2 separate regions of the Homo sapiens genome follow, and region 2 is linked to region 1. The links are contacts of gene promoters, found by promoter capture Hi-C in human tissues and cell types (Jung and others, 2019). All regions are on one chromosome and are shown on one strand. The core of a region is centred on a gene start or on the middle of the fragment in contact, and the rest is flanking DNA. Distances in the headings are between cores, read along the strand shown.

Region 1 (6,848 bases), core at 4,210-6,709:
ATTACAAGCGTGAGCCACTGCACCTTCTCTCTGTGACTTTTAAGGCTAGATCCTTAAAGGTTATACAGCGTCCCTGTTACTGCTGGGACATTGGCTCTTGAAGCCTTCACCTACCATTTAATCACAAACTGCCCAAAACTAAGAAAGCCTAAACTAGCCCCTGCAGAGAGACATAAGGAGAAGCCCTGCGACTGTATGAAGGAGGAAAGAGCTGTCCAGAAGGCAGTCAGCTGCTCTAGCCCCGATTCTGTCCCAACTCTAGCCACTATCTAGAGTCACATTGCATCTCTCTGAGAGATCCCAAGCCAGAACCACCCTGCAAGCCTTTGCCAAATTCCTGACCCACAGAAACTGAGAAAAAAATAAAAAGATTATTGTTGCTTTAAGCTTCTACCTTTTGGAGTGATTTATTCAGCAATAGAGAGAAAGCAGCTCTGTATGCACTGATATAAAATAATCTTCACCACATAATTTTTAAAAAGCAACAGAATGGTATGTATTCTATGCCCTTCTTGTTTAAAAAATATATAGGGAGAGTCTTATATATGCATACAATAGTGGTTTGCCAACCTAGGTGTGCTTAGAATCTCTAGTGGGGCTGGGAGCTGTGGCTCACACCTGTAATCCCAATACTTTGGGAGGACAAGGTGAGAGGATTGCTTGAGTCAGGAGTACAAGGCCAACCTGGGCAACATAGCAAGACTCCACCTCTACAAAAAATACAAAAATTAGCCAGGTGTGGTGGCACATGCTTGTAGTCCCAGTTACTTGGGAAGCTGAGGTGGAAAGATCACCTGAGCCTGGGGCAGTTGAGGCTGCAGTGAGCCATGATTGCACCACTGTACTCCAGCGTGGGCAACAGAGTGAGACCCTCTTTCAAAAAAAAAAAAAAAAAAAGGAAAAAGAAAAAAAGAATATCCTGGATAGCTTTTTTTATCTTTTATTTTTAAAATTTATTTTTATTTTAGATTCAGGGTGTACATGTGCTTGTTTGTTACATGGGTATATACATACTGGAGGGAATTGGGTTTCTAGTGTACCCAATACCCAAATACTCAAATAGTGAACATTGTACCCAACAGGTAATTTTTCTTTTTTTTTTTTTGAGACAGAGTTTCACTCTTTAGCCCAGGCTGGAGTAAAGTGGCATGATCTGGGCTCACTGTAACCTCCGCCCCTCGGGTTCAAGTGATTTTCCTGCCTCAGCCTTCCAAGTAGCTGGGATTACAGGTGGCCGCCACCACGCCTGGCTAATTTTTGTATTTTTAGTAGAGACGAGGTTTTACCATGTTGGCCAGGCTGGTCTCAAACTCTTGACATCAGGTGATCCACCCGTCTTGGCCTCCCAAAGTGCTGGGATTACAGGCGTGAGCCACCACGCCCAGCCCCGACAGGTAATTTTTCAACCCTCGTGCTCCTCTTTTGGAGTCTCCAGTATCTGTAATTTCCATCTTTATGATCTTATGTACCCATTGTTTAGTTCCCACTTATAAGTGAGAACATGTGTCTTTGGTTTTCTGTTTCTGAGTTGTTTTTCTTAGGATAATGGCCTTCGGCTCCACCCATATTGCTGCAAAGGACGTGATTTTGTTCTTTTTTATGGCTGCATGGCAGGCTTTTAAAAACTATCAATGTCTGAGTCAATACCAATAAAAGTATATCTGGTAGTAGGACCTAAACATTACCATTTTTTTAAAAGTTCCCCAAGAGACTCTTTTTTTTTTTTTGAGATGGAGTTTTGCTCTTGTTGCCCAGGCTGAAGTGCAATGTTGCAGTCTCGGCTCACTGCAACCTCCACCTCCTGGGTTCAAGTGATTCTCTTGCCTCAGCTTCCTGAGTAGCTGAGATTACAGGCACCCACTGCCACACCCGGCTAATTTTTTGTATTTTTAGTAAAGACAGCGTTTCACCATGTTGGCCAGGCTGGTCACGAACTCCTGACCTTGTGCAGAACTGAGAACTGCTGGTATAGAATAAACCTGGAAAGCAACACAGGAAAATGGGTGCTGTGTTTGCCTCTAGAAAGGTACACCAGGGTAAGAATAGGCTATGAGGAAGATTTACTTTTTACTGTAAACCCTTGACCTTTTTAATTTGTTTACTTTGTGTTACCTATTTCCAAGAACAATCAAGCTAACATTTTACAAAATGTTTTGCAAAAAAGTAAAATGGCCCAGGCATGGTGTCTCATGCCTGTAATCCCAATACTTTGGGAGGCCAAGGTAGGAGGATCACTTCAGGCCAGGAGTTTGAGGCCAGGAGTTTGAGATCAGGCTGGGCAACATAGGGAGACCCCCATTTCTACAAAAAAATAAAAAATTAGCTGGGTGTGGTGGCGTTCGGCTGTGGTTCTAGACACTCAGGAGGCTAAGGTGGGAGGATCACTTGAGTCCAGCAGTTCGAGGTTAGAGGGATCTATAATTGCGCCACTGCACTCCAGCCTGGGTGACAGAGCAAGACCCTGTCTCTTAAAAAAAAAAAAAAAAAAAAAAAAAAAGACACTTATAGCAGTGAAAATGAAGCCTGAATAGCACACTAGGAATAGTTCATTCAATAGTGGGAATCCAGTGGGAGTTCAAGGTCCAGTGGGGCCTCAGAGGAAGTGACTAGTCCCACCTGGGAAGAATGGGTGGTCAGGAATGCTGAGGAGGTAAATCCTGAAGTGGCCCCAACCTGAAAGGACTTATTTGCTGGCCCACCATGCCTCCAGTGCATACATCATTAGTTACGCTTTGGAAAAGCTGTTTGGGAAGAGTAATGGCTATAAAATGTGGCCCTCCGGCTGCCAGTCACCTCTGTGAACCCTGAGACCAACAGGAGGGAAAAAATGCCCAGGCTAGGAGGCGTAAAGAGATCCAAGTGCTGCTGATGTGATGTCATCGAGGAAAAGCTAATTATTGGCCAGCTTTCCAGTAGCAGGGATTTAGTTATTCACCCCCACCCCCCACCCCACCCCTCCACCCGCTGCCTTTGATTCCTGTTGTGGAGCACTGGAACATCGGTGAAGGGAAAGTAGCATGGCAGACCAAAGTCTGGCTCCATGGAGCTCCTTGGGATGTGTGTGTGGAGATCAGCGAGGGACCACAACAGTAAACAGCAGCCAGGGATGCTGAACTAGGAGGCAGAGAGGCACCAATGGCCAACCTAAAGCTTCTTTACTAGCACCTTCTCCTGGCCCCGGGCCATAGCTTGCATGTTCTTGGGTGCTGGCATGTCACAGCTCCCAGGTCAAAATCCACCTCCATCCCATCTCAAAATCTACTGCTTGTTAGCTGAATAAACTTGGTAAGTAATACTATTCTGAGCCCCAATTTCTTCGTCTGTGATGCAGATGAATATGTATGAAATAAAATCAAAGAATGATAGGCAGTATTAAATTTGACTGGTCTGGTTTTTTATTTTTGCTTTTGTTTTTATTTTTGAGATGGGGTCTCACTCTGTCACCCAGGCCGGAGTGCAGTGGCACGATCTCGGCTCACTGCAACCTCTGTCTACTGGGCTCAAGCTGTCCTCCCACCCCAGCCTCCTGAGTAGCTGGGACTACAGGCACATGCTACCATGCCTGGCTACTTTTTTCTATTTTTGGTAGAGTTGGAGTTTCACCATGTTGTCCAGGCTGGTCTCTAACTCCTGAGCTCAAGTGGCTTATAGGCATGAACCACCATGCCCGGCCAAATTTGGCCAATCTTTATTGGTGCCTGTTATATGCAAGGTCCTGGCTTCCCCACACAGACAAGAAAACAAACAAATAAATGAATAAATGTCAGCTGCAAGGATTGGAGTGGATTCTTGCATTTGCATAGCACAGTGAGTGTAGTGGTTAAGAGTGGGCTTTGCAGTCAGACGTGACTGTGTTAAAATCATGCTACTGTCACTTATTAACTGTGGGACGTTGGGCAGATCACCTAACATCTCTGAGCCTCATTTCCTCACCAAAAAAAAGAAGAATCATAATATGGCACCTCCTCTAAAGCTGTTGTGAGGATTAACTCATGTAATGAATGTGAAGAGTTCTGCGCAGGCACGTGATAAACATCCAGAAACTGTTTATTCTGCTTGTTGTGCAGTCTTTAGGGCTTAAACAAAGTACTTTACACTGATTGCCTTACCTGACCCTCTCCAGGACTCTGGGTGCTAGGGCATTAACTACCCTTTGAAAGGTGAAAACATTGATGCCCATTGAGGTGAAATGATTTGTCTTCAGCCACAAGGGGCAGCATCAGGAGTAGAACCCAAGTGTTTGTGTTCTGATTCCCAAGACAGCTTATGACGTTTTGGAAACTCTGAATCTGATGGGTGACAGAAACTTGGGGATCATCTCTAGATAAGAAAGGGAGTTCCTTGAATGACTGTGAAGACGTTCACCGGAAAGGGAAGGAAAGGAAGTTAATCATGCTTCCTTCACAGGCCCTCCTTCACCCCCATCTAGTGGGCACATGCAAGCTACAAACAAGGTGAGGAATGAACAAATTAATACATACTCAATAGTGGCCAGTTCGAGGCAGATAATTAAATCAAGATGACCTGAAAGGATGTGACTGGCTGTGGCTAGTTTACACAGGGTGGTCAGGGACGGCCTCGCCATGGAGAGGGCTGGTGTTTTGGCTGAGACCTGAGAGACCAGAAGAAATCTGATGGCCAGAACCAATGTTTAGGTCCCTAAAGAGAACAAGCGTGGCGAGCAAAGGGGGCCAGTATGGGTGGAGATCAGCGAGGGAGGGGGGCAGAGATGAGTGCCCGAAGCACACAGTACCTTGGCATAGGGAGGGTTTGATTTTACCTACAAATGCCATTAAACCCACTAAGGATTTTAACAAAAACTACAATTACATTTTAATTTACATTTTATGTTTTATAGAGACAAGGTTCGGCTATACTGCCCAGGTTGATCTCGAACCCCTGGGTTCAAGCGATCCTCCCTACTCGGTCCCCCAAAGTGCTGGGATTACAAGCGTGAGCCGCTGCGCCCGGCCTTTTAATTTACATTTTAGCCTTCCGGTTACTGGAATCTTTGATGGGGAATGAGTTATAGTGAGGCAAGAGCCTCTAACATTCTAGGAGCTCTTTTCCCGTTCGGGGCCTCAATTTCCCGTTCTACAAAGGCGGGTGGGAGGGAACGGGGTCCCAAGTAGTACTGGATAAAGAGGTGGCCGATCGCAAACGCTGAGCACTTCAAAACTCTGGGCAGAGCGCTTCCGCGCCTCTCCTGCTATTTCACCCTGGCCACAGGCTAGCCGCCGAGGCCGGTCATCCGCTCTCTCCGCGGAGGAGTCAACGCCACGGAAGCAGCGGCGGAACCTCTCTAAGAATCCTTCCAGCTTGTGCTCTTCTGTCCAGGGCAGCCAATCGCGAGGAGGAGAGTAGTCAGAGGGCGGCACCCTCCCCGGTCTGGGCCGAGTTATTGGCTGGTGGTAGCGTCGCTCGCCCGGCAGTACCACGTGACGGCCTCGGCCGCGGGCGTTTACACTGGCTCTGCCTCCGGCATCTCTTCGCCGGTGCGTCCTCGCCGCGCCCGTAGGTCCCGGCAGCCGGGCCCCGCCTCCTTCGGAGTCCGAGCGATGGGCGGGGAAAGGGACAGGCAGGTATAGCTCTGTCGGCGCCGCGGTGTCCACCTCAGTCAGGCCACGGTGGAAGACGCGTGCCGCGGCGCCTGGTTGCCTGCAGCGGCCCGGACCCGAGAGGTGAGAAGAGGGAAGCGGACCAGGGAAGAGGGAGGGAGCGGTGCTGGCCGCCAAGCGGTCAGCGGGCCCCTCCCAGAGTCATTCTGCCTGGGTCCCCGCGCGGTAGAATCCCAGATCAGGGGTCGCCGCCGTGGAGCGGGGCGTGCGTCAGGTTATTTCCCGGGTGGTCCGGGGCCGGGCGAGTGGCACTGCACCCTGGTGATCCGGGCCTGCCCGTCTGGCTGGCGGCTGCCCACCCGCCCTCCATCCCGCGTATCTCGCCGTATCTCGCCGGGTGCCACGCACTCCGCTGCTTTTCCAGTCCTCGTTGATCCGTCTCGAACCTAGATATCTGGAATAGGGATCGAGGAGATAGGAGCCACCACCACCTCGGACAGATGGGGAAACTGAGGCCGGCACAGGCGAGACGGCTTGGTTATCTTGGTTATTAAAAATCACACACCCGATTAAGTACAAAATCAGGACCTGTTCTTTCGGACTCACACACTAAGTTGGTATTATTTCACTGGATGGATGGAAACACTGAGAAGACAGAGAGGGCCCAGAGCCTTGCCTAAAAATACACAGCAAGTCTTTTGCAGAGCTAGGACTTGTACCCAGCTCTCCAAACTCATAGACTATCAGCCTGGGCTCCTTCCTTGCACAGATTGGGGATCACAGTGAGTTAGAAACATTCAGAACTTAAATTGCCTTCCGGCGCCCATTCTAGTTAACCTGTCTTTTCTCCTTGTCCCCAACAGTTCTTTATGTGAAATCTACAACTAATGTGATATGCAATACTAGATTAAGCAGAACTTTTTGTTTTTGAAAATTGAATCAATAAGAAATGGAGGGCCAAAGCTGTGGGAAAGGAATGGACCCTTTAAAATCAGGAATCTCAAGGCAGGATATAGCAAGGGACAGAGACTAATAGCTGTCGTTTATTGAGTAAATGCTATGTGCCAGGCACTGTGGTAGGTAGTTGTGTTAGCCTTACAAACCAGCAAGTTAGGTAATGTTACCCCATTTTACAGGTCAGAAATTGATGCTGAGTACAGTGAAGTTTTACAAAACCATTGCCATATGACTGCTGAGCAGTATAGCTGGGATCTGAACAGAGATCTGTTTGACTTCCAGAACACATCCAGTGATTCTCCAAGTGTGGTCCTAAGCTCACTCGTTCAGCAT
Region 2 (5,929 bases), core at 469-2,968, 640 kb before region 1:
ATAAATGAGCAAAGTGAGATGCAAGAAAATACTCTACCGTAAGAAAAATCACAGAGCAAGCACAATGATAAAGGGCAGCTAGCATGTGGCCTCAGAGGGAAAATGACAGGGAGTTGGGGGGTGGGGAGGTACTGTAGGAAACCGGTACCCAGTTTTCTCAGGTCCCAACTATAGGGGAGGCTGCTGCTCAGCTCCAGCAGATGATCCCTATGCAGCAGTACCAGGCCCCTAACACCAGATTTGCCAATTACTTAAAAGAGGCCAGAAATCTAGAATTTAGGTGAAGTCTACTTATTTTTTAATATCAGCAACTATTTTTTTTTAATTTAGCACCAAATGAGGCCAAATAGAGAGAGAGAGATTGATGACAAGCTGTATCTGTTTCAGAGGCTAACAATTTGTGATTTCTGAACTGGGGTAGTAAGTGGAGAACTGAACCTATCCAAATACCCTGGAGCCAGCTCCCATGAAAGCCACAGCTCACCTTGGTGTCCCACCCTAGCTCTGCCTAGCACCCCCCAGGAGCTCAGTGAATTGCCTGATTACCACACTGCACAATAATGACTAAGTACACCAGGCAACTCTGTTGTAAATTCTCTTTTACTTCCAACAGTAATCTGTGCTTCTGTGTGATTTATCTTTATGAACAAGCCAGCTTCCTGTGGGACAGCATGTTCCAAAAGTTTTTTCTTTGTTCCTTTACATTTCTTCCCCCTGCATCTCAACAGAGTCAAGTTCTGTTCTGTGCTTTTTGAAAATCTACTTTTATTTTTTAATACCTATTTTTAAAAAATACTTTTCTGTATTATAGCTCCATTTCATTTGTATAGATCATCCCTTCTGAGGGTCAGGAAATCTGTATTCCATTCCTCATTCCTCCCTTGACTACTGAATTACTGTGTACCTCTGGGAAAAGTCCTTTCCCCTCTCTGGGCCTGAGTTTCCTCTCTGAACAATCAGAAGGTTGTTGTGTAACTTTGCACTCTACTCTCAGAGGCACTGGAAATGCAGGGCCTTGTGAAATGCCCATTTTAAAATGGAAATCTAAACTGAAAAAAGCATGTAAGATTAAAGAAATCACCGAATGTCAACGACAACAACAAAAAACTAACAAACACACACAAAAAAGCAGACCCTTTCTTCAAATCAAATCTTATATGAAAGCCCAGTTTATAAAAGAAAAATAAAAGTGGAGCTACTCTGGTTGAGGCCCACTTGGCCTCCACTTTTCCTGTTAGCCATCACTGTGGGGTCATAAGCTTCCTTGAAGGGCAGTGGGAAACCACAGTGGAAAACTACTGATGAATTCCAACAAGGTTGTTTTTTAGATGAAGAAACTGAAGAAAATAAAAGGGAAGATATCTTAGTCCATTTCTCCTGCTATAACAAAATCCCATAAGCTGGGGAACTTATAAATAACAGAAATTTATTTCTCATTGTTCTGGAGGCTGGGAAGTCTGAGATCAAGGTGGCAGCCAATTTGGTGTCTGGTGAGGGCCTGTTTCCTGGTGATGACCATCTTTTTGCTCCCTGGGGTCTCTTTCCTAAGGGCACTAATCCTACCCATGAGGGCTCCACCCTCGTGACCTAATCACCTACCAAAGGCCCCACCTCCAAGTGCCATCTCGAAGGGGATTAGGTTTCAACATATGAATTTTGGGGGATGTAAACATCTAGTCTATAGCCAAAGGATTTTGCCCACGATCATGTATTAATTGCCTATTGCTACATAAGAAATTACCCAAAATTTAGCTCCTCTAAACAATAAGCAGGAACATGTGTTATGTCACACGGTTTCTGTGGGTCAAGAATCTCCAAATGGCTTGGATAGATAGTTCTGGCTTGGGGTCTCTCATGAGATCTCAAGACGTTGGCCGGTCATCTGAAGTCACCTAAAGGCTTGACAGGCTGAAGGATCCACTTCTAAGATGGCTCACTGCATGCCTGGCAAGTTTGTGCTGGTTGTTGGAAGGAGGCCTCAGTTCTTTGCCATGGGGATTTCTTCATAGAGTTGCTTATCCTTGTGATGTGACAGCTGGCTTCCCCCAGAGCAAGCAACCCAAGAAGGAACAGCAAGGCTGATGCTGCAAGGTCTTTTATGACCTATGGTTAGAAGTTACACTCTGTCATTCTCCAATATCCTAATGGTTACACAGGTCAGCACTGTTTAGTGTGGGAGGGGACTATAAAAGGGCATGAATATCAGGAAGCAAGAATCATGGAGGCCAAGTAGATGATTGCTGAGAAAAATGGTGGCGTGAGAAGCTGCATGGACCCACTCCCTAGCAAAACAGCAGTAGCTGGTGAAATTTATTAAAACAAACAATTACTTAAAGTCTGGAAATTTTCCTAAGGGCAAATGAAGAAACATTTACTCTAGAAAATTTGCTAAATCTTAGTAAGAACAGTGAGAGTTTGTGGCATTTGAGCCACAACCTACCCCTTTATTCCCCAACTCAGTTTGAAAGAATCTTCACTCCAGGCATGTCTGGACAAGAAAACAGGGCTCCTTCTTCCCCCAGCTGCCAGTCAAGGGCTACAGTATCTCCCCAGGAAGGGCAGGCTGCCAGTATTTTTTGTCATACCCAGCTCCATGCTGTAGAGGCTAAATTCTAGGTGATTGCAGCCAAGAGGTAGGAAGCTCCCTTCCTCTACCCAGATGATAGAGCAAAGGCTTTGCCCCAGGTAGGGTAAGCCAAGAATACTGGGGCCCTGATTGCCCTCATCCTAGCTCACTTGTAAGGCAGAGGTTCCATGCTGGGAGAGGCAAGCAGAGTAGACCAGAGGTTACTGCCCCCACCCAGCACCCTGCTCATAACAGGAATGTCACTCCAAGAGAAACAGGCTCTTAATTTGTTTTGTGCTGCTATAACAGAATAACAGAGACTGAGTAATTTATAATGAACAGAAATTATTAGCTCCTAGTCTGGAGGCTGGAAAATCCAAGATCAAGGTGTTGACATCTAGCAAGGGCCTTCTTGCTGCATCATCACATGGCAGAAAATGGAAGGGCAAAGAGGCAAAAGGGGGTTGAATTTGCTCTCTTTTAATGGCATTAATCCCATCCATGAAGGCAAAGCCCTCATGGCCTAAATCACCTCTCAAAGTCCCATCTTTTCATACTGTTACAATTGCAGTTAAATTTCATTATGAGTTTTGGAGGGTACGAACATTCAAACCACAGCACAGGCCATTGTTCCCACCCCTGGATCCAGAGCAGTGACTCAGAGATTTTGCCGAGTGGGGAAAGGCAGGCCATAAGAACAGAGAACTCCAAAGCTCTTCCTCGAAAGAACTGACTTTAGTTGGAACAGAGTGTGGGAAAGTGTAAACCAAAGGGTGCTCTCAAAAACAATGGAGATTTGGTGGTTATGAGAACAATAAACTAAACCACAGGCTAGTTTATCAGAGAGAACCACAGAAAGAGACAGCTAAAATTGCCCTCAGCCGGGCGTGATGGCTCACCCTTGTCATCCCAACACTTTGGGAGGCTGAGGCAGGTGGATCACTTGAGGCCAGGAGTTCAAGACAAGCCTAGCCAACATGGCAAAAGCCTGTCTTTACTAAAAATACAAAAATTAGCCAGGCATGGTGGCGGGCACCTGTAATCCCAGCTACTCGGGAGGCTGAGGCACAAGAATCGCTTGAACCCAAGAGGCAGAGGTTGCAGTGAGCCCTGATGGTGCCACTGCACTCCAGCCTGGGCGACAGAGTGAGACCCTGTCGCCAAAAATAAAAAAAAAAAAAAAAAGAAAGAAAAATATATATATATTTAAAAAGAAATTTTTTAAAATAAAAAGAGCCCTCCTAGGGTTAGAACAAATCTCAAAGATGGGCCTCCAGAACTATCCTGTAAAGGGGCTGAATTTAATTGGATCAGGCTGTGGAGTAATTGATGCATTGTCAAAATCAATAGAGCAAACACCTGACAATTAGTAGAGCTGGGTGTAATAGCAACAGAGGCCGACTGCTTAACAGGAGATTAGGAAAAGAGTCAGAAATCCCTGCTAATACGCTGTCACCCCAGAGTGACTGTACACATGCCAAGGCTATGGCCTCTGAGGAGCAACATCAGTGGCTTCATACTTCAAGAGGAAGTAGACTACAATAAAATAGTTCAGACAAGTCACTAAACAAATAAGAAAATAACAACCCAACAACCCGGTTGGGGGGATGCATATCAAAAGATACTACAATATATTCTCGAAAATGACCAGTTTTCAACAAAAATTTATGACACACATGAAGAAGCAGGAAAATGTGACCCATACAGAAGGAAAAAAATCAAGCAACAGAAACTGCCTGAGAGAGGGCCCAAATGTAGAATTTAACAAAGATTTCAAAGCAGCCATTATAAATATATTTAAAGAACTTAAGGAAACCATGCTTAAAGAAATAAAGGAACAGAAGATGACAGTGTATTAACAGATAGTCTGTATTATTGATAGCCTATATTATTGGTAGTCTCTATCAATATATTATTGATAATAGCTCATTCCTCCTGCTATAACAAACTTCCATAAGCTGGGTAACTTATAAACAACAGAAATGTATTTCTCATTGTTCTAGAGAAATTGGCTTCATACTGCAGGAGGAAATAGACTATACTGAGTACTACACTACACTAGACTGTACACTACAGTATACGTATATGGAACTACACTACAGTTATATGGAATATAGCTATATGCTTACTATATTATACTATACTATATAGTATAGTCATATGGAATATATTATTGATAATATATTGATGGGGCCTCCAATAGAAAGATAGAAATTATAAAAAGAAGAACCAAATAAAAATCATGAGGCTGAAAAGTACAATAACTGAAACGAAAAACTCACTCAATGGGCACAACAGTAAATTTGGCCTGGTAGAAGAATCAGTGAACTTGATGACAGAAAAATAGAGATTATGCAAACCAAGAACAAAGAGAAAAAAAGAATGAAGAAAAATGACAGAGCCTCAGAGGATTGTGGAACACCATTAAGTGCACAAACATATGTGTAGAGGGAGTACTAGAAGGAGAAGAGAGAGAGAGACAGACAGATGAGCATAAAAAATATTCAAATAATGGCTGAAACTTGCCAAATTTATTGAAAAACATTAATCTATACATCCACGAAGCTCAGTGAAATCCAAGTAAGATAAAGGCAAGGAGATCTACAAAAGAGACATCATGGTAAAAATGCTAATACCAAAGACAAGGAAAAAATCTTGAAGGCAGAAGAGAAAATCAGGTCATCATGTATAAGAGAACCCCAGTAACATTAACAGCTGACTTCTCATCAGTAACAATGAAAGCCAGAAGGCCCTCCATGCTGTATTTATGATCAGGCTTGAACTGCAGGTAGTTGTGTCAGGAACAGATTTTTGCATGGGTCACTGGGTGACCACTGCAATCCCTGCAGCAGCTGGCTAGACAAGACCCCCAATTATCCATAAACTGCAGGAATTATTCTGCACCGACTTATATAAAGCTGTGTGCGCCTCTGTATAGCGCACAAAAAAAAAAGTAAAACTTTCCCTAAGAGGTTGAACTATGGCCTTGGCCCAGCTAGAGCAGTATTGCACAGCATGGACCCTGGAGTCAGAGAGACATGGAGACATGGGTTTAACCTCGGCTCTGCCACCATTAGCAGTGGGACCTAACCTCTGTGTGCCTCAGTTTCCTCAACAATAAAAGAAAATTAATTACAGTAAGTTTTGTGGGCTGGGCGCAGTGGCTCACTCCTGTAATCCCAGCACTTTGGGAGGCTGAGGCAGGCTGATCACTTGAGGTCAGGAGTTCGAGAACAGCCTGACCAACATGGCGAAACCCCATCTCTACTAAAAATACAAAAATTAGCCAGGCATGGTGGCGGGCACCTGTAGTCCCAGCTACTCTACTCGGGAGGCTGAGGCAGGAGAATCGCTTGAACCCCA

What was found. Contacts are between HindIII fragments. The study calls those that stand out against the background at their distance.
Region 2: a contact is called between a fragment that was not itself captured here and the fragment with the promoter of SLC26A2 in region 1, in 1 of the 25 tissues and cell types used here (IMR-90 fibroblasts).

What each region holds. Positions count from the first base shown.
Region 1 is chr5:149,955,299-149,962,146 of GRCh38, forward strand. It overlaps SLC26A2 (solute carrier family 26 member 2), which reads left to right and starts at 5,460. Exons shown (of 3, transcript NM_000112.4): 1 at 5,460-5,681. RefSeq lists enhancers at 3,876-4,479, 4,276-4,355 and a silencer at 5,396-5,515. The HindIII fragment of the contact is 6,337 bases long and covers 1,769-6,848 here.
Region 2 is chr5:149,322,812-149,328,740 of GRCh38, forward strand. The region is part of intron 15 of AFAP1L1 (actin filament associated protein 1 like 1); the gene reads left to right. It overlaps LOC124901103 (a long non-coding RNA gene), which reads right to left. Exons shown (of 2, transcript XR_007058989.1): 2 at 1,410-2,103. Among named protein-coding and RNA genes, the nearest start is that of GRPEL2, 20 kb to the right of the region's middle. RefSeq lists an enhancer at 1-355. The HindIII fragment of the contact is 6,826 bases long and covers 1-5,131 here.